Linked DNA regions of Homo sapiens: region 2 is linked to region 1. Evidence: promoter capture Hi-C in human tissues and cell types (Jung and others, 2019). All regions are on one chromosome and are shown on one strand. The core of a region is centred on a gene start or on the middle of the fragment in contact, and the rest is flanking DNA. Distances in the headings are between cores, read along the strand shown. Region 1 holds the start of CDC37L1 (cell division cycle 37 like 1, HSP90 cochaperone). Region 2 overlaps BRD10 (bromodomain containing 10).

Region 1 (5,110 bases), core at 1,315-3,814:
TATGGTAATATGGATAAATAGAAATTATCTTGCATTTTCAAATTATTTGGGAGCAAATATTCTTTTCTCAAATCGAAAAATTCTAAAAATAATGTATGTCTTATTTCTCCACAAACTACCCAGACAACATTTGGCCATTTGGGCAAACTATCCAACATGTATTCAGATATTAAATAAAATATTAGGTCACATTCTAATCCATGACCATACAGAAGTTTTAGAGGGACATTAAACATGATCTGCCTTTACATTAATTGGATCTAAGAACTACATATCACATACTACATTAAGAAGTCTAGATCCCCCTTATTTGATAAAATTAAGCCAAAGCTTTTTTTAGGATTATAAAATGTTAATCAATTAAACATTTTATTTTTTCCAAATATTCCAATCCAAAAATTTAAGTCTTAAAGCCAGTAAGACCAATAAGTAGGTTTGTAATAAACACATGAACTCAGAATTAATAATCAGTTTGCAAAAAAAATTTTTTTTTTTGAGACAAGAGTTTCGCTCTTGTTGCCCAGGCTGGAATGCAATGGTGTGATCTCGGCTCACTGTAACCTTTGCCTCCAACAATTCTCCTGCCTCAGCCTCCCGAGTAGCTGGGATCACAGGCATGCGCCACCACACCAGGCTGATTTTGTATTTTTGGTAGAGACAGGGTTTCTCCATGTTGGTCAGGCTGGTCTCGAACTCTGGTGGGCAGTGCAGTAGGTGGGAAAATATACTGGACTAGGAGTCATAAGTGGGTTCTAGTTTTAACCTGGCCACTAACTAGTTACATGGCCTCAGGGAAAACACTTTTAATGAGAGAGATAAGCTTACTCACTTCTAAAATCTCTTCCAGCTAAACAAATTTAGAAGTGCACAAGTAAGAAATTAACATACAGATATTTCTCTAGATTACTTCTGTAATTCAACCACAATGCACTGAAATTCTTGACACCCTTTTTTCTCTTCATATGCCTTCAAAATTGACAATGGCATCTGCTGTTCATTCTTCTTTCCTCCCTAGCACATCATGTGCTTATAATACATTTTGTATATAAAGATGACACTAGTGATCCAAAATTAGTGGGTGACTAATGATGGACCCATCAACTCTCATTCTGTCCTCCTAAAAAATGTCTTGTAGTTCCCCAGTGACTTAGCTGGCCAAAGTACAGACAGTGGTTATGAAACAGCATTTTTCTCTGTGTGAAGCCAACTAACCCTGTTAGCTGGACATAAGATTGATAATGTCACGCTTACTGGTAAGCAATTTAACTCATTCTCATTAACATCTAGCAAAATAAGTTGAGAGGAAAACTACTATTAAATCTGTTACACTCTTGGGAACCCCATTTTGCAAGAAGGCGGCAGACACTTATGATCCATTGAATATATTAGTGTTTAGTCTGTGATTCTGAAATATACTTCCAAAACACACACGGATTCGGAGAAAAAAACAGGACAAGGTGATGCGAGTATGTAAGTATCCCCTAAGATAGGTCCCTGAAAAATCCTTAATAGTATATCACATTTGGATACGTTTCAGTCGCAGGAAGGCAGGAATGCTGGATTGAAAACACAATACCAGGAACCTAAGAGAAGTCTGAAGGAAAACACAAGTATATGCGTATATATTTTCACTGGAGAATGACGTGAAGCAAAACTAAAAAACAAAACAGTAAGGCAAAGATGGTCACGCGAATGGGAGAGGTGTACGCCAGCGTCAAAAGCGAGATTTAAAGAATTTACTCAGTTGTCAACATCGGTGAAAATCGCATGTGAAATCTTTGTCAGGACTCAGTGTGATGCTGAACTACAATCATTCACTGTTCCTAGCAACTGTGCACAAGTATGCTAGAGCCTTTAACAGAATAAAGTGCTTGGGGAAAACCTCTCACAAGAGGACAAAGGGTCAATGTTACAGCATGAGCCGCCCCAAATCTGAGTGCTGTCAGGAAGGGGAGATGGAGGAAGGTATTCCAAGAGTGAACAGGAATCAGCCAAGGCGAAAGAAAACATGTGCGTGGAGGTGGAGGTTGGTAATATATGGCCACCCCGTCTGCCCTCCGAAGATGCCATAAAAGGGGTGGGATGGCATCAGGCGTCAGGTCCCAGGTCCCCGGCCCCTGGCAGTGAGGTGGGCGTAGAAAAAGGCGTAGAAGAGGGTCTGGGAGACGCGGCATTCCAGGGGTTTGGCGACAGCACCACTCCATCCCTCCGCAGAACGCAGGCCCCTTCTCACCTGGGCGCCGCCGCCTGGCAGCTGCGGGCAGCGGGGAGAACTGGGGAACACGTCGAAGTCACTCTCTTCCTCAGCCTCACCCTCGGCCCGAGGGAGGCTCCAGGGTCCCGGAGGCGGCCACGGTTGTTCCATGTCCGGCTGCTCCGGGTCCTACAACCGCCCTTGGCCCTACAACTGCCACTGCCAACAGACTTGGCGTGAATGGAACCTGCTGCGCCGAGCCAGAAGCCCAGCCGGGGGTCCGGGCCGTTACCCAGAATCCCTCTACTGGCCGCGACGCCGCTGCACACCCGGCGACAGCCTGGGCCTCGCCACCGGCGGACGGCGGAAGAAATAGTCGGCGCGGTGCGTCACTTCCGGTTGGGGCGGGGCTGTGGAGGCGCGTCCCGGGCCCTTTGCGTGTAGTGGGTGGATCTGCAATTGTATTCCTGTTTCAAGCCCCGTTTTCTTGCAGCTCTTCGGCACTGCAAACCTAACCGCTAATGGCGCTGTGGGTGGAGAAACGTTTGTTAGGTAGCGTTATATATTGTTATCTGGTGTTCCCTATACCGAAAACGGCGGGTCCTGGCCGCCGGGAGGTACTCAGACCAGGTGTGCACTTTACATGTTGCTTAAAAATTGCAACTCATTCCTTTACATTGACATTTAAACCAGTGATTCTAAGGCAGAGTTGGGGCGGAGGGAGGAGAATTTTGAACAAGCGGAGCCAATTTTCGTCTCATTTCTAATTACAGGCAACAACAGAATTCTGCGAAACTTGGTTGGTTGGAGGAGCACACCAAAAATAAAGTACCGGAGCCGGCACGGCTTCAAAAAAATTAGGATCAGTACCGCTAGTAGCGAACGCATAAGAAGGGCTTCCTGTATGCCTGCGTATCTTGTTTAAGCCTAAAGATATGTACTCTCTTTATCCTCTTTTTTTGAGACGAGGAAGTAGACCCAGCATGCCCGAGATCACACATTTTACAAGGAAGAAGTAGGATCCAGACCCAGGGAGTTTAACTTCAAAACTTGAACGTTTAACAATCAGGTCTTGCTGCCCTACTCATAAAGAGACCCAAATAAAAACAACATGACGCCATTTTTTTCCATGTGTTTAGACTGGCAAACTTGTGAAGTCGCTTAATACCAAATGTGTACCAAGATGTAAGGAAATGATGTGAGAATGTCATTAGTATAACCTTTTAGGAGGAGTAATTTGACAATATGAGAGGCTTGAGCGGATTGATTCAGCAATTTCACCACTAAGAAAGTATGCAACAATTATTTTTGCACCAATATCCAAAGATTTACTACAAAGATTTCTGGCAGCAATTTTTGTGTGTGTGTGGCAAGAAAAAAAAAAGCATTCTAATTGTCCATCGATAGAGGAACTTAAAGTATGGAATATTAATACAATGGCATATTACCCTTTTTAAAAAAAGTAAATTGTATCTGAATATGCTGATATATAAATACCTCCAAAAGGTATTGAGTTTTAAACAAAGCAACTTGCAGAATTAAACATATGCGTACGTATACAGAGAGAGAAGAGAGAGGGATGGTATTTGTTTGCGTCCGTGTGTGTGTGTGTGTGTGTGTGTGTGTGTGTGTGTGTTTGCGCAGAACATTCCTGGAGGATATGCAAGAAACTGTTAATGATTACCTCTGGTGGGTGAGCCTAGGAAGGAAAGCTTCTGAGGATCTTTACTTTCCACATTTAGCTTCCCTGTACTGTGCTGTTTGAATATTTTTCCAATGAATGTATACTATAATTATAGTATTATAACAGTACAAGATTATAACAGTACAAGATTACTATAAAATTAATTACAAATAAAAGCTGAGAATCACTTTTGCACCTAAACCTTTTGAATTTAGGGGTGAAAGTCACAGGAGAGACTGGAAAGGGAGGAAGAAAAGAAAAACATTTTTCTCTTTGCTTCCATGAAGCCACAAAGTGCTTTGAATAGTGCCTGGCATAAAGTAAGCCCTATATAAACGCTAATGCTGTTAGTTTTTCTCCTACCTCTTTCACTACTTCTCCTCAGTCTTCTTCCCTTCTAGCTGACCTCTAACTTTAGAGTTCCTCATATTTTGGCCAGTGAGGAGAATCCTGTTTATTCCTGTGGCTTTAAATAACATCTGTGTATCTATAATTCTCAAATTGAAATCCAAGTCCTGACCTTACCCCTGTGCTCCAGACTCATGTCTACCCGCTGATTTGTCATCTCATTTTAATGGTTCATACACATCTTAAATTTAACACATCCAAACCCTTGATCTCACCGCCTTCCCCAAACTTCTTTGGGTCTTCTCCGTGTCAATCAATGGCATCACCATCCAGTCCAAAACCTAGAGTTCAGCCTTAGTTCCTCCCTCTCCTTTACCTCTCATACCAACAGCAAGTCCTACTGTTTTTACCCCCAAATACATCTTGAATCTATGTTCTTTCCTGCTTTACTGCATACTCCCTAGGCCAGAACACTATGATTGCTTCTCAGAACTACTGCAGTAGTCTTCCATGCTTCTGTTCCATTCTTGCTCCTTACAATCTCTTCATACTGTTGCCAGAGAGATTTTTAAAAAATACATAAATCATATCATGTCTCACCCCTGCTATATCAATTATATGCTTTCAATGCAAATAACTGAAACCTCAGCTAAAAGAAACCTAAACTATAAGGACATTTATTGTGTATGTAACAAAAAGAATGATCCCAGGATAGGCTTAGCAGTTTGAAGATGTCATTAAATATTCAGGTTCAGGCCAGGCGTGGTAGCCTACACCTGTAATCCCAGCACTTTGTGAGGCCAAGGCGGGTGGATCACTTGAGGCCAGGAGTTCGAGACTAGCCTGGCCAACATGGCAAAACCCCGTCTCTACTGAAAATACAA
Region 2 (5,110 bases), core at 1,424-3,923, 1.3 Mb before region 1:
AAAAATTAAATGCAAAGTTTGAGTTTGCTATATAGCACTTAATCATCATGCTTGGTTGCTTATGAACAAAAGCTGTAAGGATTGAGAGAAAGGAGTCTTTTCTCCTGAGAGACAGACTGGAGAGAAAAGGATCATAAAAGATTTGAAGGAGTAGGGAGCATTTAGATACCTGTGGTGGTAGGATTGACAGTATTTGCAATATAGATTATTAAAATGTTATGTGTATACATATTATGGAAATCTAAAGGAAATAGTTGAATTGTAACTAATATATGTAGACTTTTTAGCAATCCAGTGATTAGTGTTTATATTCGTAATAGTTTATTAATTAAAATGTGTACATCCTGGGGCAATAATAGAACAGTACAAGAGAAAATCTCCCTCTTTCACCAGTCTCCAGGTCTCCTACTGTTAAGAGGCCAATCCTACTGTTAATAGTTTCTTTTATCCAATTGAGTGTCCAGTAGCCATCTCAAACTTTAACATGTTCAAAACAGAACTTTTCTTTTTTTTGTTTATTTTTACTAAGTTTAGTCTTAGAGATTTGACCATCCACCAAATTGCTCTAGCCAAAAAAATAGCATTTTTCATTGATTCTTCCTACTTCTAAAGTATATTTTAAATCTTGCCTATTTCTTTCTATTGTTACCACTTAAGTAAGTGTTCTTGACTGTCCTTTACAAAACGTACAGTATGTAACTTATAGTTTGAACTTATTTATTATGTATTGTGTGTGCTTACTTTTTGTGTATCTTCTTTGCTATCCATGTAAGCTCAGAGCAGACAGGAATGTTGTCTGTGTTGTTGCCAAACCTACCCCACTACCTATAAGTGCTTAGTTAATATTGAATGAAGGAATGAATGAATGGATGGATGGATCTGCCTGAAATTTGTTTTGGTGAAGAAGTGAGGTTGAAATCCAGCTTAATTTTTTTCTCAAATACCCAGCCAGTTGTCGCAACATCAACTTTCTCCATTATTTTGAATTACCATGTTTATGATATATTATTGGTGTATTTGGATCTATTTTTCTTTATCATATGTCTCTGGTGTACTTGGATCTAACTTTCTCTGGTGTGCTGTTGATCTAACTATTCATCTTCTGATATTAAACTTTATTACTGTGACTTTAGAATTTATTTTAATATATTTGGTAGAGTGAGTCCTCTGTCAAAAAAAAAACCCATTTTTTCATGTATTTATTTTTCCATTAGATATGTGGCTTTTAAATAAGTATAGCAGAAGCAACATTTGCATCACCCATGTTTTGTTCACTTCGCATAAGAAATATGCAAGAAAACAATAAAAATCACTAGTTTGTGGGGAATAAGAGTGGTATTCTTCTCATTCATGAAGTGAAAGATGAAAAGTTGATAGCATTACTTATTTTCTGTAGACACTGTAATAGCCACTTGCTACATTCTTCTCATTTTAATTATGTCCTTAGCTCTTGCCAAGTCCCTATATCTCTTTGTTAAGACCTGTTATTTCAGGTAGGCAGGCGCTAAGACTTGCTCTAGCTTTCCTGCCTTTCTTCCTTGTGCCATTGTCTGAATCTGAAAGTGTCCTAAATTTACAATCAGCTACTTTAAAGCCTCATCAATGCTTAGGAGATAAATAGAAGAGTTGGCCAGGGACAGGAAGCCAAGGTATTTACCTGCGTACTTTGCAGACTCATTACATTTTTAGCATCTTCTAGGGAACATTAGCATATTGAGACAGTATGAGAGTTAGTGACCTAGAGAGCTTCTGTTCTGCCTGCATTGAGAACTCCTGAGAAGTAGGAATAGCTGTAGCAGTAGTAGTATGTTCAGCAGAGCAGCCCTAACTTACTAAAAATGCTTATCACACTTGTCAAGGTTGATAAGGCACTTTTCAAATACTGTTTGTCTGTAAATAAAAACTTTGCATTTGCCTTTGTGCCTTTCCTAAATTCAGAAAAACAGAATAAATATATTCTAAGCAAAACGATTTTTTAAAAATTAGTTACATGGCTCGGGCATGGTAGCTCATGCCTATAATCCCAGCACTTTGGGAGGCAGAGGTGGGCAGATCACCTGAGGTCGGGAGTTTGAGACCAGCCTGGCCAATGTGGTGAGAGACCCTGTGAAATCCCAACTCTACTAAACATACAAAAATTAGCCAGGCATAGTGGCATATGCTTGTAATCTTAGCTACTTGGGAGACTGAGGCACAAGAATTGCTTGAACCCAGGAGGCAAAGGTTGCAGTGAGCTGAGATTGTGCCATTGCACTCCAGCCTGGGTGACAGAGTAAGACGTTGTCTCAAAAACAACAACAACAACAAAAAAAAAAACCAAGTTACATGGTCTTCAGTTGTTCTTTGGGGCGTTATGTCATTTACCTGTTGCTGTTGCAGAAATGAATAATGGCTTTGGAAGGTTTTGTTTGTATTCTTCTCCTCTGGAGAGGAATAAATACATTTATTTTTATATATGTATTTATTTACTGTTGTTGTTTAATGGCTTTACTTACCACTAAGGGCTCCTAAATCAGTATCTTGAACCCCCCGCCTTTAGTTTTAGTTTCATATTTTTGTCCATAGAACTTTTCCAGTTGGTTGTGTAATTGTTATCTCAAAATGTTAAAAACTGAGTATATTTCTAGCCCAAATCTCCTTCCCAGTTTTCCTGTTTTTCTTTTTGACTTTTCACATTTTTGTCAGTGGTGTTATCATTGTTTCAGCCTGAATGTATCAGTCATCTTTGATGTTTATACTTTTAATTCCATATGTACAAATTGTTAGCGTGTTCTTTGCTAAATCCCTGTGGCTCAGTAAATATTTTGATGAATATATTTGAATAATATGAATGAATATTTTTGTCTTTATTTAGTATTCTCTCTCCACTCTTTCCTATCTATCTAAAACTGTTCTTTCTGCAAAGTCCAATTCAAGTTCTTAACAAAGGGTGACCAGATAGGGTATAGAAAGGTTGACTAAAATAAGAACTGAAAAATACCCTTTGCATTTCCTAACTGGGAGATCTCTGGGAAGAGGGATTTCAGTGGAGTAGCTCCAAGCAGATGCCACATTATAGATTGAGATGTGAATGAAAGATGAATTGGATCAGCAGTTTAGATGTTCCTCAGGGAAACTTGGACTTGTTTATATGCTAAAGCAGCTAACAGACAGAGAAAGAGAGTTTGAAGGCTCAGAAGATAATTAATGAAATACAAATTCTGAAGACCTGTGTAGTGATTCATTTTTCATTAGAGGATTGGAGGCACATTTTTCACTGAAACATAAAGTAAGGATGGGCCTGGATTTAGATAATTTTGGTTTTTGAGAAGCAGGAAGTTAATGGAGCTCTTACTTAAAAACTGCCGTTTTCTCTGAAATAAGTTATGGGCAGTCACCTGCGAGAAAGTGATGGAATGAAGCTTTTGAATAGTGGTAGCATTTGGGCCGGCATGGTGGCTCACGCCTCTAATCCCAGCAATTTGGGATGCCAAGGCGGGTGGATCAACTGAGGTCAGGAGTTCGAGACCAGCCTGACCAACATGGAGAAACCCCGTCTCTATTGAAAATGCTGAAAATTAGCCGGGCGTGGTGGCATATGCCTGTAATCCCAGCTACTCAGGAGGCTGAGGCAGGAGAATTGCTTGAACCAGGGAGGCGGAGGTTGCAGTGAGCCGAGATGGTGCCATTGCACTCCAGCCTGGGCAACAAGAGCGAAACTCTGTCTCAAAAAAAAAAAAAAAGAAAAATGATAGCATTTGAAGTTGCTGTTATGGAGAATGAAAGAGGGAGTTGACCACCTTCAAAGAAGTCATATTAGGTACAGTTGAGCCCAGCTGAGGTTATAGTTAGACAACAGATTATAAGGGGATTATTTTTTCTACCCTGCTCAGTAGGAGAAGTATAGGAGTGAAGGGGCCTTTGGCTGAGATTTAAGAGAGAGGCTACATGCCTGAGACAGAAATATAATTGGTCCAGGGAGATAAGAGAAGAGGTTAGTCATGTATTATGGGTCTCAACTGGTTATCTATGTGAATAGCTAAAAGAAGTTGAATTATGTTACAGCAAATGAGAGTCAGACAAGGGACTGGAGGTCTGAAGGAAGACGAAAAAGAAATTCAGGGGGAATAAGGTAATGACTGGGAAAATAGAAGGTAAAAATCAAGTAGAAAGTAAGTTTAATGGTCTTTAATAAGTGCTTTTTTGTGGGTATGAAGACTACTTCTTTTCCTGAAAACCTTTTTGTGTGTGAGGTAGCTTATAGCTGCAGATAAGAGCAGTGGTCTCCAGACTTTCATGATCTGGCTTCTCAAGCAGCAAACATTTTGAATATATACCTTCGATTATGCATATTTATTTATAAATCATATATGGATACTTTACTATTATGTTTTATATATTATAAAACATAAGCTAAGCTAGATACTTAAAATGAGAGAGTAAATAAGCATATTTAAAAAATTTTTTAACATTATTGATGGTATAAAAAGTTTTTGGTGAGGGCATTGTGATACTTCATTAGTTTTGAGAATCTTGGTTTCGTACTTGGCTGTAGAGCTATTTGAAAGGCTTGTTTTAAGTTAGGTTTATTTTGATACTTGGTTTTAATGGCTGTTGTAGCACAGAGCTTGTAAAGATACATAAATGTAGACAGAAGCTTAGATGAATGATGCTTATCTATCAAATATGCAAATTTTTTTGTCAGAATTCCCCAGTAAAATTTTCTGTCTTTCCTAATTTAATTAGTTGTTCTTGGAAAGTATTTCTAAGGTGTGCTGTGCTGTTAATCTCCATTTGCCCCTGTAAATGCATTTTCTACCCTTGTGCACTGTGCTCTGTGCCCCAGAAGGCTGATTTATAAGGATCAAACTGGTATGCCTTGACCTCTGACTTCTGATTGGGTTCAGCCAATAGGAGGGACTGACAGGAGGACAGAGAGGACAGACATATTTATTCCTACAGCTTCCTTTTTGCTGGGTTGCAAGTTGTCAGAAACTGTGCTCCATCGTTATGGCCTTCTCCTACAGTCACCGCTCTCTGGGTTCCAGTAACTATTCACTCTCCTACCCATATTGGGCTTAGAGTGGTAAAATAGTTCTCTGCTGTGGCTAGCACTGGAGTGCTTCACTAT

The links. The method cuts DNA at HindIII sites, captures the fragments that hold promoters and counts their contacts. A contact is called where the count stands out against the background at its distance.
Region 2: a fragment that was not itself captured here is called in contact with the fragment with the promoter of CDC37L1 in region 1 in 1 of the 25 tissues and cell types used here (lymphoblastoid cells).

What each region holds. Positions count from the first base shown.
Region 1 is chr9:4,677,023-4,682,132 of GRCh38, reverse strand. It overlaps CDC37L1 (cell division cycle 37 like 1, HSP90 cochaperone), which reads right to left and starts at 2,564. Exons shown (of 7, transcript NM_017913.4): 1 at 2,234-2,564. The coding sequence starts at 2,365. It overlaps CDC37L1-DT (CDC37L1 divergent transcript), which reads left to right and starts at 2,653. Exons shown (of 2, transcript NR_121598.1): 1 at 2,653-2,746. RefSeq lists an enhancer at 2,341-2,430. The HindIII fragment of the contact is 7,477 bases long and covers 2,364-5,110 here.
Region 2 is chr9:5,993,514-5,998,623 of GRCh38, reverse strand. The region is part of intron 1 of BRD10 (bromodomain containing 10); the gene reads left to right. Among named protein-coding and RNA genes, the nearest start is that of MIR4665, 12 kb to the left of the region's middle. The HindIII fragment of the contact is 6,479 bases long and covers 1-5,110 here.